2 separate regions of the Homo sapiens genome follow, and region 2 is linked to region 1. The links are contacts of gene promoters, found by promoter capture Hi-C in human tissues and cell types (Jung and others, 2019). All regions are on one chromosome and are shown on one strand. Each heading gives the region's core, a stretch centred on a gene start or on the middle of the fragment in contact. The rest is flanking DNA. Distances are from core to core; before and after follow the strand shown. Region 1 holds the start of CYB5B (cytochrome b5 type B). Region 2 overlaps WWP2 (WW domain containing E3 ubiquitin protein ligase 2).

What was found. Contacts are between HindIII fragments. The study calls those that stand out against the background at their distance.
Region 2: a fragment that was not itself captured here is called in contact with the fragment with the promoter of CYB5B in region 1 in 1 of the 25 tissues and cell types used here (stomach).

What each region holds. Positions count from the first base shown.
Region 1 is chr16:69,418,326-69,426,063 of GRCh38, reverse strand. CYB5B (cytochrome b5 type B) reads right to left here and starts at 1,445. Exons shown (of 5, transcript NM_030579.3): 1 at 1,207-1,445. The coding sequence starts at 1,380. RefSeq lists enhancers at 1,067-1,614, 1,615-2,162. The HindIII fragment of the contact is 13,364 bases long and covers 1-7,738 here.
Region 2 is chr16:69,854,915-69,862,652 of GRCh38, reverse strand. The region is part of intron 6 of WWP2 (WW domain containing E3 ubiquitin protein ligase 2); the gene reads right to left. Among named protein-coding and RNA genes, the nearest start is that of MIR140, 74 kb to the left of the region's middle. The HindIII fragment of the contact is 7,416 bases long and covers 1-6,453 here.

The sequences.
Region 1 (7,738 bases), core at 196-2,695:
AGTAAATTCTGAGTTTGTTAAATTATTGTTCACTATTAAGATTTATTAAAAATAATGTTCTTTGGGGGAAACTTTTAAATTTTAAAAGTTTTTAGAATTAAAAGTCAGGATGCAGAGATTTCTCTTTTAGGCCCCAAATTAATCGAAAAAATATTTCACTAGTATATTTGCTTCAGAGAAATAGAAGTGAACTTTCACAAGTCATTAATCTATTGCTCAAAATAAAATGATCACACACAAACCGAAAATCAAAGCTTCAAACATACACACACCGAAAATCAAAGCTTCAAACCAATCTTTAGCGGCTGCATATCACTAGTTGCCTGGGGTTGGGAGAGAATGACTGCAAAGGGAAAGGAAGCTTTTTAGAATGATGGAAATGGTTTATGTCTTAACATGGATGAATACATTTTTCAAAACTCATCAAAATGTACATTTTAGATAGGCACAATTTACGTATGTACATTACACCTCAATAAAGTTTTAAATATTTAGAAGTCTATCCTGTTTCCTTAAAAAAAAAATTAGTTGCACCATGGTCTCAAAAATAATTTTTAAAATGAGATGTAATGCAACAGACTTGAAGATTAAATAAAACAGTCTTGAATATTTAAGAAAAATGACAAAACATGAGTCAAAAACAAAAAAAAAGGGTTGATTTATGAGTTTCTGGCCTCAAGGTCAACTCAGATTAGGGGGAAAAAAAAACAGTGGAGGCATAATCAAGATGGGGAAGCGTGTGGAGAGAAATCTCAGCTTCTACTCTAGAAGACGAAAACCAAAACCGGTATTACTTCAGAAGGCACACTGGAAAAGCACAGATGTGGGTGCACTTCAGACCTAGGTTCAACGGATCTAAGCTGCTAACTCTATGGCCCTGAGAGTCCTCAACCTGTGAGCCTCAGTTTCCCTTTCTGTAAAATAAAGATAATGATGGCTTAGAGTTTAGCTGAGCACACAGCAAATGCTCGACACATAAGTAATACATGATATTACATAAGGCACCAGAACTCGGAGCTGACTGGAAATGCATGCAAACTAAAGCCCTCCCCCAATCCCACCCCAGTTTCCCTCTGAGGGTCGTGATCCCTTTCTTACGCCTTATCGCCCCCAGCCAAGCCTCCCTTCCTTCCCACATACACTCCACACAGCCTTTTCACCCCTCGCCCCAGCAGCTTCAGAGGCCTCCCACCTCCCAGGCCCCACCTCGTTGAGGAAGCGGGTGACATCGTAGACTCGCCCATGGATCACAAGCCACAGTTCCTTCAAGGAGTTGCGCTTTGCCACCTCCTCCAACCGGTAATAGGTGACTGAGGTCTCGACTTCCTGCCCTTTCCCATCGCTGCCGCTAGCTTCCGCAGTCGCCATTGAACCGGACATACTGCCTCTCCACCGCTAACTGAGATTCCGCGACTACTTTCCTTGAGAGCCCGCGCTCAGCCTTCCTCGGCTTCCGTAACCAGGGCCCATAAGGCCTTGAGACGGTTCCTAGCAACAGCCAATCACACTTCCGAATAGTTCCTGGTTCGTTTTCTTTTCACCAATGAAGGGAGTGGCTCAGTTCGAAATCCCGCCCACTCCTCGCCCGATCCTCCAGATGAAAGTCTGGTTCGAGGTCCAACTAACCAATTAGGGTCGTTCAGCCCCCTCCAACCTCGCCAATCAGATACCGCGATTTTTGGACTGGCGCCCAAAAGAGGCGTGCTGACAGGTGTCACTTCAGGAGAGGTACCACTTCTCTCAGCCTGTGGGCCTTTAGGGTCTCCAGTGTTCTGCTTCCCTTCCCATCGCTGTGGCTTTCTCCTGAGTCTCAGAAAGTTCCTATCCCCTACACTACCGGCGCAGCCTGTATCCCAACCCTGATTTTACATCTTTGCTGCCTCCAGGTCGTGATCTGGCCAATCCCGTCTCTCCTCAATTTCCCCATCAGTAAAATGGGCTTGATAAAGCACTCTCTTACAGAGGGGTTTGCCTTTTTTTTTTTTTTTTTTTTTTTTGAGACAAGTTCTCGCTCTGTCTCCTAGGCCAGAGTGCAGTGGCACGATCTCGGCTTACTGCAAACTCCGCCTCCCAGGTTCAAGCGATTCTCCTACCTCAGCCTCTCGACTAGCTGGAACTACAGGCATGCGCCACCACGCCCGGCTAATTTTTGTATTTTTAGTAGAGAGTAGGTTTCACCATGTTGGCCAGGCTGGTCTCGAACTCCTGACCTCAGGTGATCCGCCTGCGTAGGCCTCCCAAAGTGCTGGGATTACAGGCGTGAGCCACCGCGCCTGGCCCGGTTTGCCTATTTTAATGAGAGTGCCTGTAAAGCGCTTGGCGCATAGTAATCGCTAAACATGGCAGTCGATTAGAAAGGCAATTGCTGTCCCGGACAGCAATTGGGGGTAGAATGTGGAGTATCCTATGTTTCTACCATCATTCAGAATCCGATTTTCAAACGAATTCTGTGATGATCAGGATCAATCGGCACTATTTTAGTCTCTACGTGATCTAAAATAGAATTGAACTCAACTGCTCTCCGCTAGAGGTCCCAGCACTTTGGAATTCCAAGTTTGGTTAAGGTACAGTGTTGTGCGCCACTTTTTAACTGCCATTACAACTGACAGATTGCTCTTCCTATGATGTCGTCGTTTTCATCCTGTCACTCTCGCAGTCTACCATTCAGGGCTCTCCACAATCCATTCGCAACCTCTTTCACTAACGTATAATATTTTCCACCATTCCCTTTATAAGCCTGTTGCACCCGCCCCGACTCTGAAACCTGCTGGTTTAAAACCACATCCGTGGTCATCCCAGGTCCACCAAGTTAATTTTAGATCACTTAGAGACTAAAATAGTGCAGATTGATCCTGATCATCACAGAATTCATTTGAAAATCGGATTCTGAATGGTGGTAGAAACATGGGATACTCCACATTCTACCCTCAATTGCTGTCCCAAGGACTCCTCTTCCTTTCAATGCCTACCGGCTTTTCAAGTTCCTCTTCAGTTTCTTCTATTTTCAAACTTCTCCTACCGTTTTGAGCTCCAGTGCTTCCATCCCTTTGTAGTACCTAAGAAAGCATATTACTATTTTGGGAAGCCTGCTACGTCTGTAAATTTTAACTTTACGTATTTTACCTCCCTAGTTAGACTGACACTATGAGAGCAATCTCACAAGATTCTTAGGATCCTCCACAAACTCTAGATTCAAATATTTACATTTATTCCAGACATTTACTATTTACTGTTACAAGTCTTATGATAGGCATTGGGAGTAGAGAGATAACATAAGAAACAAAATCTCTGAAAGAAATAAAAACATTTACAGGCTGAATGTGGTGGCTCAAGCCCCGTAATTCCAGCACTTTGGGAGGCCGAGGTGGACAGATCACTTGAGCCCAGGAGTTCAAGACCAGGCTGGGCAACATAGTGAGGCTCTTGTCTCTTCAAAAAATACAAAAATTATCTACGCATGGTGGCACACAACTGTAATCCCAGATATTTGAGAGGCTGAGATCTGGGGATGGCTTGAGCCTGGGAAGTCGAGGCTGCAGTGATGTATGATCGCACCACTGTGCTCCAGCCTGGATGACAGAGCGAAACCCTGTTTCAAAAAAATAAAAATAAATAAATAAAAATAAAAAATAAAAAAATTACAAATTCTAGCACTTAAGTGATATATACCTGTAACATTATATTTGAAAATGTTTTTAGAATTTCAAATAAGTAAGTTACAAGAATAATACAATGAATGACCATATACTTTTAGCTTAGGTTTACCAACTGTTAATATTTTTCAATATTTGATTTTTTCCATATTATTTTGATCATTGTTGTTAATAATGCTGAACTATTTCAGATATCACCACCCTTTACAGCCAAATAATTCTACATGTATCTTCTAAAAATAAGAACATATTGTCACGTAACTGCAGTATGAATTTCAAATTCAGAGAATTTAACATTCACACAAAATTATTATCTAACATACTCTCCATATTATTTTCCATTATTGCATTCATGTCCTTTGTGAAATTTTAGTGTGCCTGTATGACCCAGGATCCAGTTCAGGATCATGTATTGCACTTAGCTAAGTCTCTTGAGTCCCCTTTAATCTAGAACATTTCCTTAACTTTGCTTTTGCTTTCATGACATTGACATTTTTAAATAGTATAGCCTCAAATTGAATTTTACACTGAAAAATTATTGTGACCTAAATGTTTTGGTTATAAATTTATATTTACAATTGATAGCACATGTTAGCCAGAAAGTCTGGCTTGGAATACCTGTCCCTGCCACTCACAAACTTGGTGACCTTGGGCAGGTTTCTTAGCCTCTTTTTTTCCATGTGGATACCCACTTGTTCCTGCACCATTTGATGAAAACACAATTCCCCCTTGAATTGTTTTCCTGTATCTGTCGAAAATTGATTGATCATATAAGTGTGGTTCTCCTTCTGAAATTTCTACTCTGTTCCGATGACTTATTTGTTTATCCTTGTGCCAATTCCACAGTCTTGATTATTGTAAGGCACTAAATCAGGTAATATAAGTCTTATAGCTTTGCTCTTAACTTTTGAAAATTATTTTTGCTATTCTAGATCCTTTGTATTTCCACATACATTTTTTTTTTTCACTCTCATCACCCAGACTGGATGGAGTGCAATGGCACAATCTCAGCTCACTGCAACCTACACCTCCCGGGTTCAGAGTAGCTGGGATTACAGGCCCCCACCACCACACTTGGCTAATTTTCATATTTTTAGTAGAGAGGGGGTTTCACCATGTTGGCCAGGCTGGTCTCAAACTCCGGACCTCAGGTGATCCGCCCACCTCGGCCTCCCAAAGTGCTGGGATTACAGGCATGAGCCACCATGCCCGGCCCCACACACAATTTAAAATCAGCTTGTTGACCAAGTGATCAAATTAAAACATCTCCATAATAAATCATGTTGACAGCATGTACCCCCGGTGTGATGTGATGAAAAGGGCATGTTGCCACTGTGGCATTCTTCCACAAAATCCATAACCATAGTCCAAGCATGGGAAAAACATCAGGTAAACCCAAACTGAGGGACATTCTACATAATGCCTGACCAGTACTCCTCAAAACTGACAAGCTCATAAAAAAAAAAAAAAAAAAAGGAAAGATTGAGAAATTGTCACAGACTCAAGTAAACTAAGGAGACATGACAATTAAACGCAGTATAGTATCCTGGACTGGATCCTAGAACAGAAAAAGGGCACTGGGGAAGAATTAGTGAAATCCAAATAAAACAGTAAGGTGCCAGTGTTGATTTCTTACTTTTGACAAACATATTATGGTAATGTAAAATGCTATCTTTATGGAAAATTGAGTGAGTATACAGAAACTCATTGTATTATTTTTGCAACTTTTCTGTAAATCTAAAATTATTACAAAAAAAGTTATTATTTTTTGCTGGGCACTGTGGCTCATTCCTGTAATCCCAGCACTTTGGAGGCTGAGGCACAAGGATTGCTTGAGCTCAGGAGTTCAAGACCAACCTCGACAACATAGCAAGACCTCATCTCTTTTTTTTTGAGACGAGTCTCACTCTGTCACCCAGGCTGGAGTGCAGTGGCATGATCTAGGCTCAGTACAACCTCCGCCTCCCGGGTTCAAGCAATTCTCCTGACTCAGCCTCCTGAGTAGCTGGGATTACAGGTGCCCACGACCATGCCCAGCTAATTTCTTTGTATTTTTAGTAGAGACAGGGTTTCACCATGTTGGCCAGGCTGGTCTTGGACTCCTGACCTCAGGAGATCCGCCTACCTCGGCCTTCCAAAATGCTGAGATTACAAGCGTGAGCCACTGTGCCTGGCCTGCAAGACCTCATCTCTTTAAAAAAATGTAAAAATTAGCTGGGCATGGTGGTGGGCACCTATAGTCTCAGCTGCCTGGGAGGCTGAGGCAGGAGGATTGCTTGAACCCAGGAGTTGGAGGCTACAGTGAGCTATGATTGTGCCACTGCACTGCAGCCCGGGTGGCAGAGTGAGACCCTGTTTCTAGAAGAAAAAAAAAAAAATCAGCTTCTTAATTTTACAAAAGTGCTTATAGATGAATTTACAGAAAAAAGACACCTTAAAAACCTTACATTTCATGAACCATTTACTTCAGTTTAATTTGTAGTTTTCAATGTAGACATCTTTAGCATCTTTTATTAAATTTATTTCTAAATGTTTCGTTTTTTAATGCCCCTATAAATGAAATTATTTCATTTTCCAATTGTTTGCTGCCAGTCTAGATAAATATAATTGATTTTGTACATTGACTTACTATCTTATACCTTGCCAAATTCACTTATAGTTCCTGTAATTATTTTATGGATTTCTTAGAATTATCTATGTAATAAATATGTCGTCTGCTAATAGAGACAGCTTTGCTTCCACCTTTCTTCCCAATCTGTATGCCTCTTTTTTCCTTGCCTTGTTGCACTGGCTAGGACTTTCAGTACAGTGTTGAATAGAAATGGTGAAGTTAGCATCCCTGTCTTGTTCCTAATCTTAGGAGGAAAGCATTCAGTCTTTCACAATTTAATATAATTTTTCAGTAGATGTCTTTTATCAGCTTGAGGATCTTGAGGATCTAGTTTCCTGAGTTTGTTTTATTTTTATTTTGTTTTTATTAAGAAAGGGTGTTGAATCCTGTTGAATATTTTTTCTTTTCTTTTCTTTTCTTTTTTTTTTTTTTTTTTTTTGGTTGTTGTTGTTGTTGTTGAGACAGGGTTTTGCTCTGTGGCCCAGGCTGAAGTGCAGTGGCACGATCACAGCTCACTGCAGTCTCAACCTCCCGGGCTTGCAAGCAATCCTTCCACCTCAACCTCCCAAGTAGCTGAGACCACAGGCTCCCACCATCACACCCGGCTAATTTTTGTATTTTTTGTAGAGACAGGGTTTTGCCGTGTCGCCCAGGCTGGTCTCAAACTCCTGAGCTCATGTGATACACCCACCTCAGCCTCCCAAAGTGCTAGGATTACAGGCATAAGCCACTGTGCCTGGCCTGTTGAATATGTTTTATACATCTATCAGAATGATCATATTATTTTCCTCCTTTATTCCGTTAATATGGTGAATTACACTGAATGGTTTTCAAAAACTTAACCATCTGGCCGGGCGTGGTGGCTCATACCTGTAATCCCAGCACTTTGGGAGGCCGAGGCGGGCAGATCATGAGGTCAGGAGATTGAGACCATCCTGACTAACACGGTGAAACCCCGTCTCTACTAAAAATACAAAAAATTAGCCAGGCATGGTGGCACGCACCTGTAGTCCCAGCTACTTGGGAGGCTGAGGCATGAGAATCGCTTGAACCCGAGAGGCGGAGGTTGCAGTGAGCCGAGATTGCACCACTGTGCTCCAGACTGGGCGACAGAGCAAGACTTCATCTCAAAAAAAAAAAAAAAAAAAAAAAACTTAACAATCTTTGCATTCCTGAGATAAATCCCACTTTGGTTATGATGCTAATCTTGTTTATTGAATTCAATTTGCTAATATTTTAAAAGGATCTTTGCATTTATATTCATGAAGAATATTGGTCTGTAATTTTCTGTTCTTGAAGGTCTTTGATAGTTTTTTCAAGCTCTTTGACAAATATTTACTGGGTAGCTACAGTAAAGCATTGTGGTGACATGAGAATTAAACAAAATTCTTAGCACACTGCCTATCACAGAGAGTCCCCAGTAAATGCTAGCTATTTTGGGGGTTATTATTTCTAGATGCTGAAAAATGAAACC
Region 2 (7,738 bases), core at 1,496-3,995, 440 kb before region 1:
GAGGCCCAGAATATGAAAGGGAGGTTCATTGACCCCAGATTCAGGCCCACTGGTATTCAAGTTCAGCAAAAGAGAAGTTTCAAGGTATAAAAACTGATTACTGGCCAGGCATGGTGGCTCATGCCTGTAATCCCAGCACTTTGGAAGGCCGAGGTGGTTGGATTGCCTGAGGTCAGGAGTTCGAGACCAGCCTGGGGAATGGAGGCTGCAGTGAGCTGAGAGAGATCCTGCTGCTGCGCTCCAGCCTAGGTGACACAGCGAGACTCCATCTCAAAAAAACAAAACAAGGGCCAGGCGCGGTAGCTCACGCCTGTAATCCCAGCACTTTGGGAGGCCGAGGTGAGTGGATCACCTGAGGTCGGGACTTCCAGACCTGTCTGACCAACATGGAGAAATCCCGTGTCTACTAAAAATACAAAATTAGCCGGGCATGGTGGCGAATGCCTGTAATCCCAGCTACTCAGGAGGCTGAGGCAAGAGAATCACTTGAACCCTGGAGGCTGAGGTTGCAGTGTGCCGAGATCACACCATTGCACTCCAGCCGGGGCAACAAGAGCGAAAGTCTGTCTCAAAACAAACAAACAAAACAAAACAACCTGATTATTGATTTTCCTCCTATAAAACAGGCACAAAAAGTAAAATTACCTAATAAAACTCCTCTCACATTCCAATCCGGGTAAGCGGTATTTGCCTAGGATTACTAGAACCAAGAGGGCTCCCCACCTCAAGTCTGTCCTTCCTCTGAGCACACTCTTAACTGGTCATTGTCTTTTAATAGCTGCATGGAAAAAAAAATTCAGTGGAGCTGGGCCAGTTTCCAGCAAGACAGAACCAGAAAGAAACAGGCACTTAAAATAGAAGCATGAAAAAATAAAAAAGGAAGCCGTAATGGGAAAAGAAACAGTGTCCACCACCCAGAGAAGCGCCAATAAATAAACCTACTCCCACCTGCACCCCCCTCAATTCTTCCTCCCCACTCAAATGTGGATTAGAAAAAAAAAAAAAAAGGAGAGGGCGGGTAAAAGGAGAAGTGAACCGGGAAAGGCACAATTAGAGTTAAAATGGGCCCCTTCTGGTCACTGCAAGCGCAATTTACGGCTCCATTCCACACCCTACCTCTGGACTGCCAGCCTCACAAATGACAGGGAAGGTAAAAATAAAATCGCTGCCAAGTCCATTCTAAATTACAGAAAGACTTCCGGAAGACAAACAATTTCCTTTTGCGCACCCTAGAGTACAGAGCAACCTTCTCAAAGGTGGCAATTTCATTAGACTAAAAAAACTCACCTTGAGAGAGAAGGTATAGTAAATGGTGACTTGTCCAATCTACTTCCAGGCCGTATGTTGGGCTTAGCTGAGAAGAGTGCTCAAATGCCCTCCCAAACTTCAAAGAGAGCTAGAGAGTTCAGAGGGGAAGTGTTCACCTGCTCAACGTGGCCATTGATGGCTTGAGGTACCCTGAACAGAGACAGCAGCCTGTGATTTGTCCTATGACCTGAGATCCCCTGACCCTGAATTATGAGTGCATAGGACACTGTTGCCGCTTAGGAGATGAGCATCCCCATCAACCTCCACTGTGCACAGGAGGAATCTCCATGGGGCTGGCCCCCAAGGAATGCAGAGCACAACCTGTACAGGTGCGCCAGAAAAGCCTCTTCACTTTCTCGCTACTGGCATCATTCCCTGTTTGAATCTGGCCCACTCACTGCCTCCTTTTACTATAGCTCCAGACCAGAAAGGACTACACAGGACCTTGAATGAATGGGGGACTACAGTATATTAGAGTGTTCTTTCTTTCCTTTTTTTTTTTTTAACTAGAGATCGAGTCTTGCTATGTTGTCCTGGCTGGTCTCAAACTCCTGGCCTCAAGCAATCCTCCAGCCTCGGCCTCCCAAAGTGTTGGGATTAGAGGCATGAGCTGGGTAGAGCATTATTTCTAAGTGTTCTGACACGACAAATCACAAGGCAGGAATTCAGCAGGACGGAGGCAGGCTCCAAAAAGAATATGTTCAATGGACATCCCTCAAAATACCTCTCTAGACCCCTACCAAGGGAGAGTCAGACCCTTTGCTGATCTACTTGCCCGGCATTCTCTTCCTGGACTTTCCACCCAGGTGGCCAAATTCCTAGGCCAAATCTCAGTCCAAATGTCCCTCATCTCCCAGGCTACAGTAAATTTCCTTTCATTCTCTCATAACATCCTAATTGTTCCCTTTATGGCACTGCTATGTGTCACTACACATTCATGAGGGCAGAGATCATGTCTTGTTTTGTGAACCTCTGGAGACTCAGCACCTAGTGTGTGCCTGGCCCACAGTAGGATTCAGGAAATATCTGTTGAATGAAGGAAAGATGCAAGCTGTCAGGTTCAAAATCACTCTTGGGCCTGTAACCTCCAGTACTTTGCATATTCTTTCCAATCCAGTCACTCATCACCTCCCCGACTCCTTTAAAGAATGGAATCGGACCACCACGCCTGGCTAATTTTTTTGATTTTTTTTTATAGCGATGGGGGTCTTGAACTCCTAAGGTGAAGTGATCCTCCCACCTCGGCCTCCCAAAGTGCTGGGATTACAGGTCTGAGCCACCATGGCTGGCCCATTAGAGAGAGTCTTTCTACTGTGGGGAGAATTTCTAAAATGACATCCCTCTCACTCTAGCCCCCCTCCAATGCCTAAAACCTGTGAATATGACAAGGTGCCACACCCTTGAGTATGTCGTCAAGTATGTCGTCGTGTACCACAGCAGACCTTAAGAAAGGGGATCATCGGGCGGGGCGGGGGTGGGGGGCGGTGCTCTCTCAGTCTAATTAGCATCACATCACCTCCTGGAAGCAGAGCGCCTTCTCCAGCAGGTGGCAGGAGAGAAAATCAGAGAGATTCAAATCACAGGGAGATCTGACACTCCTTTCCTGGCTCGAAGGTGGAGGGGGCACCGTGAGAAGGAATGCAGGGGTCGGGGCCAGGGGGAAGCTTAAGGAGTTGAGAGGGACCCCCGCTGATGGTCAGCAAGGAATGGGCACCTCAGTCCTACAACTGCAAATAACTAAATTCAGCTAAGGACCTGAATGACTTTTTTTTTCTTTTTCTTTTTTTTTGAGACAGGGTCTCCCTCTGTCGCCCAGGCTGGAGTGCAGTGGTGCAATCACAGCTCACTGCATCCTCGACCTCCCTGGGCTCAAGCGATCCTCCCGCCTCAGCCTCCTGAGTAACCGGGATGACAGGCATGCGCCACCATGCCTAGCTAATTTCTGTATTTTTTTTGTTGAGATGGGGTTTGGCTATGTTGCTTAGGCTGGTCTCAAACTCCTGTACTCAAGCCATCTGCCCACCTCAGCCTGCCAAAGTGCTGGAATTACAGGCGTGAGCCACTGTGCCCAGCCCTGAATGACCTTTGATATGAATTCTTCCCCAGTGTATGCAGATAAGAATGTTGTCCTGCCAGAGCCTTGATTTTGGCCTTGTGAGACCCTGAAGGGAAAAGTCAGCCGTGTGATCCTGGACTTATGACCTACAGAACTGTGAGCTAATAAATGGTGTTGTTTTAAGCCCTGAGTTTGTGGTGATTTGTTACAGAGCAATAGAAAATGAATGCAAATAAATGACAATTCAATTTCCACAGTAGAAGATGGAACTCTCAAATACATGCATGACTAGGGAACAGCCTTGACCCAGTTCTTGCTGGTCTAGTTCAGCAGCCCTCATACAGTTATGGCATCACTCTGTGGGATCCAGTGCCCATGTCGAAGGAGCAGCATTCCAGTGATCCTAATGTCCTCAAGGAGACACTCAATCCTAAGATTCAATAATCACTTGGGAATTTGAACACCTAGTATAAATGAGATATTACCTATTCTTAGAGGGTAAGTAACATTCTTTTCTGGCAGAGTTGAAGTACACGGACTTTACACCTTCTTTTCCCAAACAAGACTTATTTATGTGTCAATTCTTCTCTGATTCCAATACTAACCTTAAAAGCTGCAAGGATTTGAAAAGAACAGTCGGTGAAAAGCATTCAACACAGAAATATCAATCATGAAGAAAAAAACAGATGAAGCCACAGAGACTGTGCAGGCAGTGGGACCCCAGCACACTCTTGGTGGTTCACCTTGCAAGCACAAGGCGGCTGTGATAAAGGGCGCCCCCTCTTCTCTGTGGTCCTCAAATTATCGCATCTCAGGAGTCAAGGCGCCAGGGAACGTAAACCAGCAACATGACCCACCCAGAAGTTTTGGCGAATGAAGAGCAGGAACACGAGACTCTTTCAGCTCAGCAAATATTTATTGAGCTGCTACTACGTGCAGTGAGGCACTATTCTAGGTCCTGCTGGGGACACAAAGATGAATGAGGCACACAGAGCCGTGGCCTGGTGTTTGAGTGAAAGCTTCAGCACCACTTCCCCCAAGCCCCTTCCTCCCCAAAAAAACCACAAACCAGGTGGAAGAAATAACTCCTCGGAAGTCTCCAATTCATCATCCTTTTTCTAAGTGTAAAGAAAAATGTATAACTTTATTTAAAAGAAAACTTTTTTTTTTTACTGGTTCTAAAGGTAAAATTTCAAAGAAAAGGAACAAAACCAACCGGGCCCTAATCTCCCATTCTCCACTACAAAATAATGAGTATCTGCACCACATCCTACTCTAGGTTTTCACTAATTTCATTAAATTTTCTTTGTGTCATTTTGTCGTTATAGAGTTGTACTGTTAGGCCGGATGCGGTAGCTTACGCCTATAATCCCAACACTTTGGGAGGCTGAGGAAAGAGGATCCAAGACCAGACTAGGCAACACAGGAAGACACTGTCACTACAAAAAAAAATTTAAAAATTAGCCAGGCATGGTGGCGCACACCTGTAGTCTCAGCTACCTGGGAGACTGAGGTGGGAAGATCACTTGAGCCTGGGAGGTCGAGGCTGCAGTGAGCTGTGATTGTGCCACTGCACTCCAGCCTGGGTGACAGAGCGAAACCCTGTCTCAAAAAAAAAAAAAAAAAAAAAAAAGAGTTGACCTTCAAAGGCCATTTGAAAACACAAAACACACAAAGTAGACCCAAAATATAGACATGCTGTATATAAAACTCAGCATAAGGCCAAACAGAAAACCTTCAGGCCGGGAGCCAGTCAATGAGCTCTTGCTCTCTTCACACCACTGGATGCAGAATTTCACACTCCATTATCAAATAGTCAGGGAGCCAAAGATACCTTCAACCCATCAAGACTTTTCTTGAAAAGGCAGACCAAACACAGTGGAAAGTGGAAAGTTACGCCAGGCGTGGTGGCTCACACCTGTAATCCCAGCACTTTGGGAGGCCAAGGCAGGTGGATCACGAGGTCAGGAGTTCGAGACCAGCCTGGCCAACAGGTGAAACCCCATCTCTACTAAAAATACAAAAACTAGCTGAGCGTGGTGGAGCGCGCCCAGCTACTCGGGAGGCTGAGGCAGGAGAATCGCTTGAACCCCAGAGGCAGAGGTTGCAATGAGCCGAGATGGCGCCACTGCACTCCAGCCTGAGCGACAGAGTGAGACTCTGTCTCAAAAAAAGTAAAAAAAGTGGAAAGTTAGTCAAAGATGGGAAACAGAAACTGTAGGACAGACAGAAATTAACAAGAGGAAGAAAACAACTCTAAAGATATCAAGAATCACGAGAAACATAAATGAACTGTGACAGTTTAAAATCATATGGTTTTTTAAAACTCTAGTTAAATGCTGTTACAAAAAAACACTACCTAAAATATAAGTACCAAATAGGTTAAAATGAAATGAATAGGGAAAAAAATATGCCAAGTGGACACAAAACAAAAGGAAGCTGGGATAGTTAGGTTAACGTCACACCAAACGGGTTTTGTTGTTGTTGTTGTATTTTTTTTTTATTTTTTATTTTTGAGATAGAGTCTCCCTCTGTCACCCAGGCTGGAGTGCAGTGGCGTGATCTCAGCTCACTGCAACCTCCACCTCCCAAGTTCAAGCAATCCTCCTGCCTCAGCCTCCCGAGTAGCTGAGACTACAGGCACATGCCACCACACCCAGCTAATTTTTGTATTTTTAGTGAGATGTGGTTTCACCATGTTGGCCAGGATGGTCTCGATCTCCCGACCTCGTGATCCACCCACCTCAGTCTCCCACAGTGCTGGGATTACAGGCGTGAGCCACCGCACCTGGCCACCAAATGGGTCTTTTAATGATTTTTAAAATTAAGGTATAATTTACATAGAGTAAAATTTACCCTTTCTAAGGGTACAATTTGGCAAGTTTTACCAAATGTTTATAGTGGTGTTACCATCACCACAACTGAGACATAGAACATTCCCATTGCTCCCAAAATTTCCTTGTGCCCCTTTGCAGTCAATCCCTCCTCCAATGCCCCCACATCTTCAGATTGGATTTCTGTCCCTAGAATTTTGCCTTTTCCAGGATGTTATATAAATGGAATCATATAGAACATAAGCTTCTATGTCTGGCTTCTTAAGCTTAGCCTAATACTTTTAAGAGTCATTCACGTTGTTAAGTTACTTTTTATTTGTCAGACCAAATAAATATACATCTTTTTTAGAGATGGGAGTCTTGTTATGCTGCCCAGGCTAGACTCGAACTCCTGGACTCAAGCAATCCTCCCAGCTCAGCCTCCCCAGTGGCTGGGACTATAGGCACATACCACTGTGCCTGGCTTCAGACCAAATAAATTTTAAGAGAAAAAGCACTAAAAACAAGAATAACAAGATAAGGCCAAAACGTTCTATTCATCCATAAGACATATGTCAAATTGTACTCTAGATCCAATGAAATAACCTCGAAATACATAAAGCAGAAATTCATCAGAATGATCTGGCACCACCCTTTACCAGTGTCATCTCTTCCTATGACTCCACTTCCCCTTCCTCTCCAGTGGGACTGGCCTCTCCACTGTTCCTTCAACTCCAAAGGCACATTCCTAACTTAAGGCCTTTCCAACAGCCATTCTTCTGCCCAAACTCTCTTTCCCCAGATATCCTCATGGTTACATTCCTTGCCTCCTTCAAATCTTTGCTTAAAAGTCACCTTCTCAACAACACCTCTCTTGACTGCCCTATTTAATACTGCAACCGGCTCTTATATGATACATTTATACATATTTTTCGCATGAATCAAACTCATTTTTTAAGTAATAAAAATCAATAAAACCAAGGGAAAAAAGGAACACTCTGGGATTCTGCATTATTATAGAAACCAAGGCACAAAATGTTTCTAGAGAGGACTAGTCCATGATGTTAAACTGGCAGACAGGTCAGGGGGGCTTTGGTGACTGTCATTGCAGCAGAATGATAGAGGCAGAGGGCAGACTGAAGTGAACTAAAAAATACTTAAGAAATAAGGATGGCAGACCCCAAGAATATTGAGACAAATACCTCCACTATATTTTCAATAAGTTAAGGGTGAAGAAAAACTTCATGAAACCCAGTACATGTGAAGCAGAATATAAATTCTAGATTTTAGTTCTGTTACTATTTTTATCTAAAACAAAATGAAAAGCCGGCTGGGGCTCAGCGGCTCATGCCTGTAATCCCAGCACTTTGGAAGGCCAAGGCTGGTGGATCGCTTGAGTTCAGAGTTCAAGACCAGCCTGGGGAGACCTTATCTCTACAAAAAATTTTAAAAATTAGCCTACTGTGGTGGTGCACACCTGTAGTCCCAGCTATTTGGGAGGCTGAGGCAAGAGGATCACTTGAGCCTTGGAGGTTGAGGCTGCAGTGGGCCTTGATTGCAC